Regions from separate parts of the Homo sapiens genome. Here all the other regions are linked to region 1. Evidence: promoter capture Hi-C in 16 types of primary human blood cells and fetal thymus (Javierre and others, 2016). All regions are on one chromosome and are shown on one strand. Each heading gives the region's core, a stretch centred on a gene start or on the middle of the fragment in contact. The rest is flanking DNA. Distances are from core to core; before and after follow the strand shown. Region 1 holds the start of MPPE1 (metallophosphoesterase 1). Region 2 has its middle 1.7 kb from the start of TUBB6. Region 3 holds the start of CIDEA (cell death inducing DFFA like effector a).

Region 1 (2,874 bases), core at 150-2,649:
TATAAGCTTAACTGGTTCTAGTTTCCCTTTCTTTGTTAGTCAGAGAGAATACTTTAGAGGTGAGGCTGCAAACAATCCACGGTGCCATATTAGTGTGTTTATGGAATCAGGCTGTCCCAGTTTCGATTATGTCAAAGTTGTTCACCTGATCATATCTGAAGATATTACAATATTCTTAATAATAATAACCATTTACCGCATACTTATTGTATACCAGGCATTTTGCTGGCTGTGTCCTATATAATTCCTCAAACCACATCTCCGTGTATTAACCACACTCATAGATTTGTGAAAATGTACCAGAATTGACTGGTTGGAAGGCTCTATGTGGATTATTACTCTGAGCATGTTTACTTCTTGAAATATGAAATAATGGCTCCTGCTTTTAATATACAGGCTTATTTTGAGGATTTTTTGAACGGATGTGAGAGCACTTAGAAAACTGGAACGCGCCGCGCTACACCATTAAAATTAGTAACATCAGTGAGAAAAAAGCAAGTGCATAATAAATATTATAGTTATCCTGATTGTCTCCTTTATTCATCACACACTTCCTAAGCACATCTCTGGAGGGCACTTTCCAAGGCTCCGGGGGAGGAGAGGAAAGAGGCGCAGCCAGGCCTGGTGGGTCCCGGAGGGGCAGCGCGGCGCGGGAGGGGAACGGGGAGGCACGGCCTGGCTGCCACCGCGCGCGGAACCCGGGAGCGGCTCCGGGGCTGTCAGCTGCCCGCCTGGCTCCTCCAAGGCCTGGAGCTCGGACGCGGGCTCTGGGGGCTTCTGGGGCGCGGAAGCGGGCTCGCGGGGAGCAGTGGCCGCCCCCGGCCGCCGCGGTGGCTGTGCTCAGAAGCCGGCCCTGGCGTCAGGAGGCCGGGCGCGCGGCGCGGGGCGCGAGTTCCCCTGCCCGCCTGTGCGCCCCGCAACGGGCCTTTCCTGGGCCCTAACGACAGCTCGCCCGTGCTTCGCCCTCGCAGCTCTCCTGTGTCCCCAAAATGCCTTTCCCGCGTCCCCCGCCCTTCAGCGGTGACTGCCCAGGGGACTCTGTAACGCGACACTCAGACTGCCGAGCCTGCCAGGCACTTCGCGGAGGGCGCTAGGGGCCGGGACGCGGCCGCCGAGCGTAGGTTCCGGCCTTTACTCCGAGTTGCGCACGGAGCCCCAGCTGCGGTTGTCCGCTCTGGGGATCACAGGCCGCGGAGACCCGGGAGCCACCCGCCGGGCCCCTTCAGACGACCCGCTTCCGCAAACCGGCCGTGGGACTCCGGCGCCGGGCGGACGAAGCGGCTCCGGGAAGACTCGGTCTTCCCCGCCCGCCTGAGGTCGCCGGGGCGGGGCTTCAGTGACAGGCCCGCGCGCTACCGCGGAAACAGGAAGTTGGCTGGGTGCGCGCCGGCTCCGGCTGCAGTTCCCGGGTCCCTCGGCCACCGAAGCCACCCTGCCCTGGTGAAAGGGCTCCCGCACCGCCCGGTGCTCCCCATCTGCCTGGCGTTGTGCGCAGAGCTGGAAAGCATGGCTGTTGTATGTATTCTTGCGCCCGTGTGACAACATTTAAACTTCTAAAAACGGAACCTCCTTCCGTGTTAGGATTGCAAGTTAACCTAGGAAAAACAGCATTCTGCAAATTATTTGCTGGAAAATCTCGGTGACTTAAGGCCCATGTATTACTTTGCAGGGGTCTCTCACTCTAGTTTGCTGGTGTAGATTTTTTAAAAAATCCATCTTATCAAAAAATACCGTTTAAGGTGGAAAATTTCAAATGCAAGTCGCAGTTGATGAGATTGCAATTAATATATTTAAGATAGTGAATTAGAGAAAAACTACAGGTCAGTGCATATTAAGTATTTTTTTCATATTTTGGGGGGATTAGATTTTTAACGATAACTTTGAAGTTAAAAATTAAAAGATAGGCTGGGTGCCGTTGCTTAGGCCTGTAATTCCAGCACTCTGGGACGCTGAAGTGGGAGGATGGCTTGATCCCAGAGATGCGAGACCAGCCTGGGCAACATAGCAAGTCCCCCGCCCCCACCATAACAACAAAAGTACCAAAAAAAAAAAAAAAAAAAGCCAGGTGTAGTGGCACGCACCTGAAGTCCCTGCTACTCGAGAAGTTGTGGGGGAAAGGATCGCTTCAGCGCAGGAGTTTGGGGCTGCAGCGAGCTGTGACGCAGCCTGCGGTTGACAAAAAGTCAAAACTCTATAAAATATTTGAAGGGATTAATTCTGAGCCAAATATGAGTGACCATGGCTGGTGACACAGCCATTTGGAGACCCTGAGAACGCGTACGCAAGGTGGTCGGGGCCCAGTGTGGTTTTATGCATTTTAGGGGAGCCATGAGTCATCAGTCAAATACATGTAAGATTAAGATGTACATTGGTTCGGTCCATAAAGGTATGACAGCTGAGGAGGTGGGTGGGTCGGGGGTTTCCGGGTTATAGGTAGATTGAAAATTTTCTGATTGGCATTTGGTTGAAAGATTTATTATCAATGGAAAGGAATGTTTGGGTTACAATAAGAGGCTGTGGAGACTGAAGTTTTATCATGCAGATGAAGCCTCCAGGTAAGTTAAGTGTCCAGCATGTTAAATGCTGGTCTGCTTTTCCTGAATTCTAAAAGGGAGGAGGATGAAATGTGTCAAGTTCCACCCCCACTTCCCATCATGGCCTAAACAAGTTTTGCTTAAAACAACCTAAAACAAGGTTAACTCTGGAATGCCCTTGGTGGGGTCCATGCAGATGGTTGAGGGGTCTTAGGATTTCATTTTTGATTTACAATGGGCGGTGGAGTGAGACCCTATCTCTAAAAATAAATAAATAAATAAATACAAATTGAAAAGTTCAAAGATAAATTTTTTTTTTTTTTTTTTGAGACGGAGTTTC
Region 2 (2,874 bases), core at 187-2,686, 400 kb before region 1:
AGGGAGACGCGAGTCGGGCCCTGGCGTCGGGGCAGCGGAGCCGACGTGGCCCGCGGGGTCCCAGCGCCGCGCCCGGGAGCATTGCAGCCGCCCGCGCCCAGTCCAGCCAAGCCGGGACACTGCCCTGGGGTTCGGCGGTGGAGCTTTTCAGGGTCTCTGCCCCCTGCCCCCCACCCCCCGGTCGCACCCCGGGCACACGTTCTTAGGGCCTCTTCGTCCTGGTGTTTCCGTCTCCGGAGATACAGAGGCCATTCCTCTCCGACGACTCCCACCCCTTTGGAACCGGGTTTAGCTAAAGTGACTACAGGGCTGGATCCGAAAATGAACACCTCCTGCGCCGGGTCTATGCAGCCTACTCCTCGCGCGTTAGCGAAGAAATGCGCTTCGGCCTGGGAGGGCGCGCCAGAGTCCGTCTTCCTGGCCAGTTTTGTGTGGTGGAAAGGAATGACTGCTGATGCCGGCCGGGTGACTTGGATTTTAATTCTAGCTGTTTTCAGTTAGCTCTGCGCTTCAGCGGACTCCTCTGTTAACGGAAAAGGTTATCCTAGGGGAGCCTTTCAGCCTCCAAAATGCGGGATGCTCTGGCCTCTGCAGTCAGAATGTGCATGCATCAGGGCTTTTGCGGAAGTTTCCTCACGTGAACGCTGCAGGCTGGGACCACCGGGGTAGCCTCTGCGTCCCCTCCCAGGCCCGTAGAAACGCCGCACATGAGGAAGCGACGATGTTCTGTAATTTGCACTGGCACTTTCTTTTTAGACAGATGAAAACTTTGGGAAATTCCTAATTGTGTGTGTGCATGTTTGTACGTTTGGAAGGGAGTGGAGAACTTTTAAAAGTTTTTCTTCTGGAGTTTTGCAAATGTTTCCAAATTGAGGAATTTTTTTTTTTAACCCTTGGGTCCCCGCCTCCCCACTGCTCTCTCCACCCCAGTGCTGCTCCTCGGCCTTCTTGTGGGTCCCCACACCTCTTTACACAGCCACACGCCCAGGGAGCAGATGAGGAGGCCACAGCCCAGCCCCTGCGCTCCCATTTCAAACTATGAGCCTGAGATTAATCAGCCACCTTCTCCTGAGTCCTCAACACCCTTATTTAGGCTGTTTGTTTCCATTGCTTAATTATTGACTCCAACGAGTGCTACCTTAACCCATCCTGCCGGCCCGAAGTCTAGTGTGGGGAGCCCGAGAGCGGAGGGCCTGTGCCATCCCTGGAAGAACCCTTCCTCCAGCTTTAGTCTCTCTCTCTAAGAAATCCAGCCATCAAGTGGTTTAAAAGAAAGTGTCTACTTTAGAAGCTTTGGTCGTTTGCTGAAATAGCCACCCTTTCAGTGCTAGCCCTTGGGCTGGAATTTAAGTCCAGGGGTCTGATCGAGCCAGAAAGTAGGTGTCAGCGTGGCTTCCGGAAGTCCGTTGTCACTTGGATTTGACAAGGGACAAGCCGACCTGCTGGTTTCTGGGCTCCTGCTCGCTGTGCGCTCTGCGCTGTCTGCAGGGATTGGTGCCCGCGGAGTGCGCTTTGTCTGGAGAAACTCAGTGCTCGAAGAGTGAGGAGACCGGGAGGAAACCTTCCCCCTGCAAAGCTTATCTCCCTTCCCTCTCATCAGAGGCGGGGCCCCGCAAGACACAAGGGATTTCCCCGCAGAATGAACCAAGGCCTCCCCAGGACATGGGGACAGTTCTGCTGTGCAAAGCCTGAATTCACGTTTCTTTCCTAAAGTGGCTCCCAGTCTCTCTGCAGCCTTGGCCTCTCTTTGAATCCCAACCCTGACTTCCCTGGTGTCTGTTGGCCACTCCCTTCTGGGAGCCGGCAGGTGAAACCCTGACCTGTGAGCCCGGCCTGGGGCTCTCCAGGCTCTGGGCCCCCTACCCTCCCGATCTGTGGCCCTCACTCCTCCTGGGCGAGGCTGTTTGTGACGCGGTGTGTCCAAATGCACACAAGCCGCAAACCAAACTTAAAAAAGCGTAGAGGACACATTCTCTTCTCCTACCTTAAAAAATACACCATGGTATCTGGAAAGCCAGGTTCCAGTTTAGAATTCTCAGGCTAGGCCGGGCACAGTGGTTCACGCCTGTAATCCCAAAACTTCCAAAGCTGACATGGCAGGATTGCTTGAGCCCAGGACCTCGAGACCAGCCTGGGCATTATAGTGAGACCCTTGTCTCTACAAAAAGTTAAAAAATTAGCCAGGCATGGTGGTACATGCCTGTACCCAGCTACTCCAGAGTCTGAGGTGGGAGGATTGATTGCTTGAACCTGGGAGGTGGAGGTTGCTGTGAGCTGTGATCATGTCACTGCACTCCAGCCAGGGTGACAGAGTGAGACCGCGTCTCAATAAAAATAAAATAAAATAAAATAAAAAAGAAATCGGTAGACTTCTTGGGCTCCTCGTTGATTTGCATCAGGGCGTGGAAGTGCGGGGGCTGGTCTCAGCCTGCAGTCCTCACTTTCAACACCCGCCTTTCTCCCCACCTCCAATTCTGTCCCACGCCGAGATGGGTCTCCAGTACATGCCTGTGGACACTTCAGTCCTCAGCCACTCACAGCCATCCCAGGCCACCCTGCGGGAAGAAGGGGCCCTAGGAGTAGGTTTGGGGAGGTCTGGGCAGGGACTCCTGAGGTCCGGGGGGCTGAGGTGCCATCTAGGAGCTGTGGGCTCATCCCAGTGGCCCTGTAGGGAGGGGGCAGGCAAGGACAAGGCCCCTCACCTGGGTCGAAGGCAGTGATGGCGTTCATGACTTGGTGCTCTGGGCGAGCCACATTACCCGTGCACTCCTGTCTGCTCACTTTCCTCCTCCTCTTGCCCGTCTCTTCTGTGCCTTAGATCACAGTCTTGCTTCTCTGAACGCCTCCTTCTGTTTCATGCATGTGTAGAGAGGA
Region 3 (2,874 bases), core at 141-2,640, 350 kb before region 1:
CTGCTCAGAGGCCAACCAGGATTGGTTAGTGCGAGTCAGCCCACACCTCCTTCCCCCATGCTCCGGAGGAACAGTGGGTGTGTTGTGAATTCACTGGAAAAGTGGTTGGAAGGACGCATTCCAAACTGCTAAGACCTCCCCTCCTGGAAGTGGGACTGTGGTGTGGATGGTTCTGGAAGAACGCAAAAGATACAGGGCCCTGACCTTTAGGCCTAAGCGTGTTAATGACCATACACGAAGCAGGTGTTTCTCAGCGTCCCCCTGCCACCGCCCCGACTTGTACTGTGGGCTTATTTTTAAAGAGAAAGATGCTTCTAACCTGCAGTGTCTACAACAGCTCCCATTTAAGAACCCGGGATTGGAAGCTCATAGATTGCGTTTCGTAGCCGGACCGCTCCCTTTCACACATGTAGTCTCTCTGCCCGCCACACGTAGCACACACAGTGGGACCCGGCGCCGCTGAACGCCTGCACCTTCAAGCCCGCAAATGGTTCTCTATCCTTTTCCAGGTACTTGATCTTCAGAGAAACACGATCTCCCTCTTAGACCTTACTTTACAGTTGCTGCCACGCAATGACTTAGGATTTTACCAAGAATTGGCTTGGGTCTGTTGGGATATGAATATTAACCCAAGCAGGAAAATAGCCAATGCTGCCTGTTCGACCACGAGCGGGTGCGAAGCGCAGGGAAGACTCCTCAGGGTCCACCCGCCCCTTGTCCCCCCTGCTCCCCAGGCAGCGTCTCCGCCCTTGGACCCGGAGGCAAGGAGGAGCGCTTCTCCCAGCACCACCAACCTGGAGGGCTCCGCCGGACGGTTGGGGCCTCCCCTCGGAGACCAGAGCCCGCGCTTCCAGGAGGGGCCAAGCCTGGGCCCCTCCCGCGCCCAGCTCCCGTTGTGATTTCCAGGACCCCCAGAAGCCCGGTCCCCTCGCATCGCGGAAGCTTTGCTCGGGGTTCCTGGGACCGGACCCTCTTCTGCGCCCGCGACTGCAGCAGCGGCCAGAGATGCATGCAGCCACTCGCCAGCTGTCACCTGGTTTGCAGACGCCCGCGCACCTCGCAAGAGCCACACCTGGTACCTGTGCCCAGCTGCAAGAGGGTGAGGAGGCGCGGGACGGGATTGGGCTCTGCCCGCGGGCGCGGCTGGACGGCTTGGGCACCAGTGGGGCGGATGGGTGTGTGCGCGGGGTCGCGGAGCGCAAGAGAATGCGGGGAGCAGGGGGCTGAAGGGAGCGGGGTACGGTACTAGAGGCGCACAGGGGAATATGAGGCCACCGAACGCAAGGCGATTGGAAGCGCACGGCAATCAGGGGGACGCGGGGCACTCGCCTGATGAGGGCTCCTGCATAGTCCCGGGCGGCCTCCATGGCGCGGATCCCCTAGCGGGCCTGGAGGTCTGTCTGCCTGCACAGCCTCTTAAAGTGCGGCGGCCCCGCCCCCGCCCGCCTGCCAGCCCCGCGAAGGCCTGACTGGCGCAGGGGAGGACGTTTTGGCACGAGCTCTCCACCGCCGAGGATCGCGACTTCGCGCTCTGGGAGCCCCCGGTCGTCCTGGCTCCCGCAGCCTGGAGCCGCGCGTCCTTCGCTGCCTTGGGCCGTACCGAGGACCTTGGAAGCCCAGATGCTCCCCGGGTCTCTTTTGGTCACTTGCCAGCCTGTTCGTTTTGCACTTCTGGGGGTCGGGGCAGTTGGGGTCATAACCAATCCTGGCAGCATCACTTTGGCCGCGGAAAGACGGGTATGTGGATTTTAAACCCAGGCCACGGGTGGGGCAGGTGAGGAGACGGATGTGAGCGCCACTTGCCTCCAGCTCTGGAGTCCCCCAGAGCCCAGCCCCAGGCTCAGCGAGCCGCTGGTTCCCTGCAGGGATGCGGAAGCTGCCGCAGACACCGGGACCTGCAGCCCTTCAGGTTCTCCGAGGCGCCTGGGCTTCCTGCCCGCTGCGCTGCTCTCAAGGCCATGTCATGAGCATTTGGGGACAGTGAGAAGGGCATGCAGAACGGGAGGGGAAAGGAGCCTTTGGACTGCATGAATTGCCTTTTAGCTGTAGTAAGGGACCCTCGCAGAGTGAGGAGGCAAAGAGTGAACCCCGCTGGGGCTGGGGGACTTCCGTCCACACCCTGCTCTCATGGTTGTTCCCATCGGAAGACGCAATTAGGGCCTCTGAGACCTCCGAGGAAGGCGGGCAGTTACAAGGGGTTCCCAGAACCCCTCACTACAGGACTGAAGAGGTGGGCTCAGTGTTGAGGGGTGGGACTCGGGCAGTAAGAGGTGTAACTTTCTGGGATGGAGGCTTGCTAGGATATCCTCTCGTGCCCAACTGCTGACTGCCGCCTGGAAACAGCGTTTCGGGAGCTGCAGCGGGACCCTCGCCGGCTCCTCCTGAGCCCACCTGGTTTGAGCAGACTGACCTGATCTCTTAAGACCTGACCCTATGCCCGCCCTCTTCCTCCGCTGGCTCTCAGAAAGGGTCACCGTGGTCAACAAGCCTTGTGACTTGCAGGACTGTTGAAGCCAAAGGCAATTGCCTTCCAGAGTCAAGGACTCCGCCTGCTGGGAACACCCAGCTCCAGGCTCACAGGGGGCAGCTTCCCCCAGAGGCACTGAGCGGACACAGCTTTAGGAGGTCATTCACTGCCCCTCCCACTCACAGCCCCAATGTGATGGATGAGAAAATGGGTCCAATCAATTCAGGTCAACTTACCTCTAACCTTTTTATTGTGAAAAAGTTCAAATATAGAGATACATAGAAAGAACAGGGCTGAGGGTACTGGCTTACATCTGTAATCCCAGTACTTTGGGAGGCCAAAACAGGAGGATGGCTTGAAGCCAGGAATTTGAGACCAGCCTGGGTAACACTGTGAGACTACTATCT

The links. The method cuts DNA at HindIII sites, captures the fragments that hold promoters and counts their contacts. A CHiCAGO score of 5 or more calls a contact.
Region 2: a contact is called between a fragment that was not itself captured here and the fragment with the promoter of MPPE1 in region 1, in 1 of 17 cell types (erythroblasts). The highest score is 5.5, in erythroblasts.
Region 3: a contact is called between the fragment with the promoter of CIDEA here and the fragment with the promoter of MPPE1 in region 1, in 2 of 17 cell types (endothelial precursors and M0 macrophages). The highest score is 6.0, in endothelial precursors.

Annotation. Positions count from the first base shown.
Region 1 is chr18:11,906,842-11,909,715 of GRCh38, reverse strand. MPPE1 (metallophosphoesterase 1) reads left to right here and starts at 1,399. Exons shown (of 11, transcript NM_023075.6): 1 at 1,399-1,515. RefSeq lists a silencer at 607-1,006. The HindIII fragment of the contact is 5,797 bases long and covers 9-2,874 here.
Region 2 is chr18:12,305,094-12,307,967 of GRCh38, reverse strand. It overlaps a transcript of TUBB6 not described here. Among named protein-coding and RNA genes, the nearest start is that of TUBB6, 1.7 kb to the left of the region's middle. RefSeq lists a silencer at 1-241. The HindIII fragment of the contact is 285 bases long and covers 1,294-1,578 here.
Region 3 is chr18:12,252,877-12,255,750 of GRCh38, reverse strand. CIDEA (cell death inducing DFFA like effector a) reads right to left here and starts at 1,390. Exons shown (of 5, transcript NM_001279.4): 1 at 1,330-1,390. The coding sequence starts at 1,367. LOC105371996 (a long non-coding RNA gene) reads right to left here and starts at 738. Exons shown (of 2, transcript XR_935158.3): 1 at 320-738; 2 at 1-172. RefSeq lists an enhancer at 1,648-2,254. The HindIII fragment of the contact is 8,350 bases long and covers 945-2,874 here.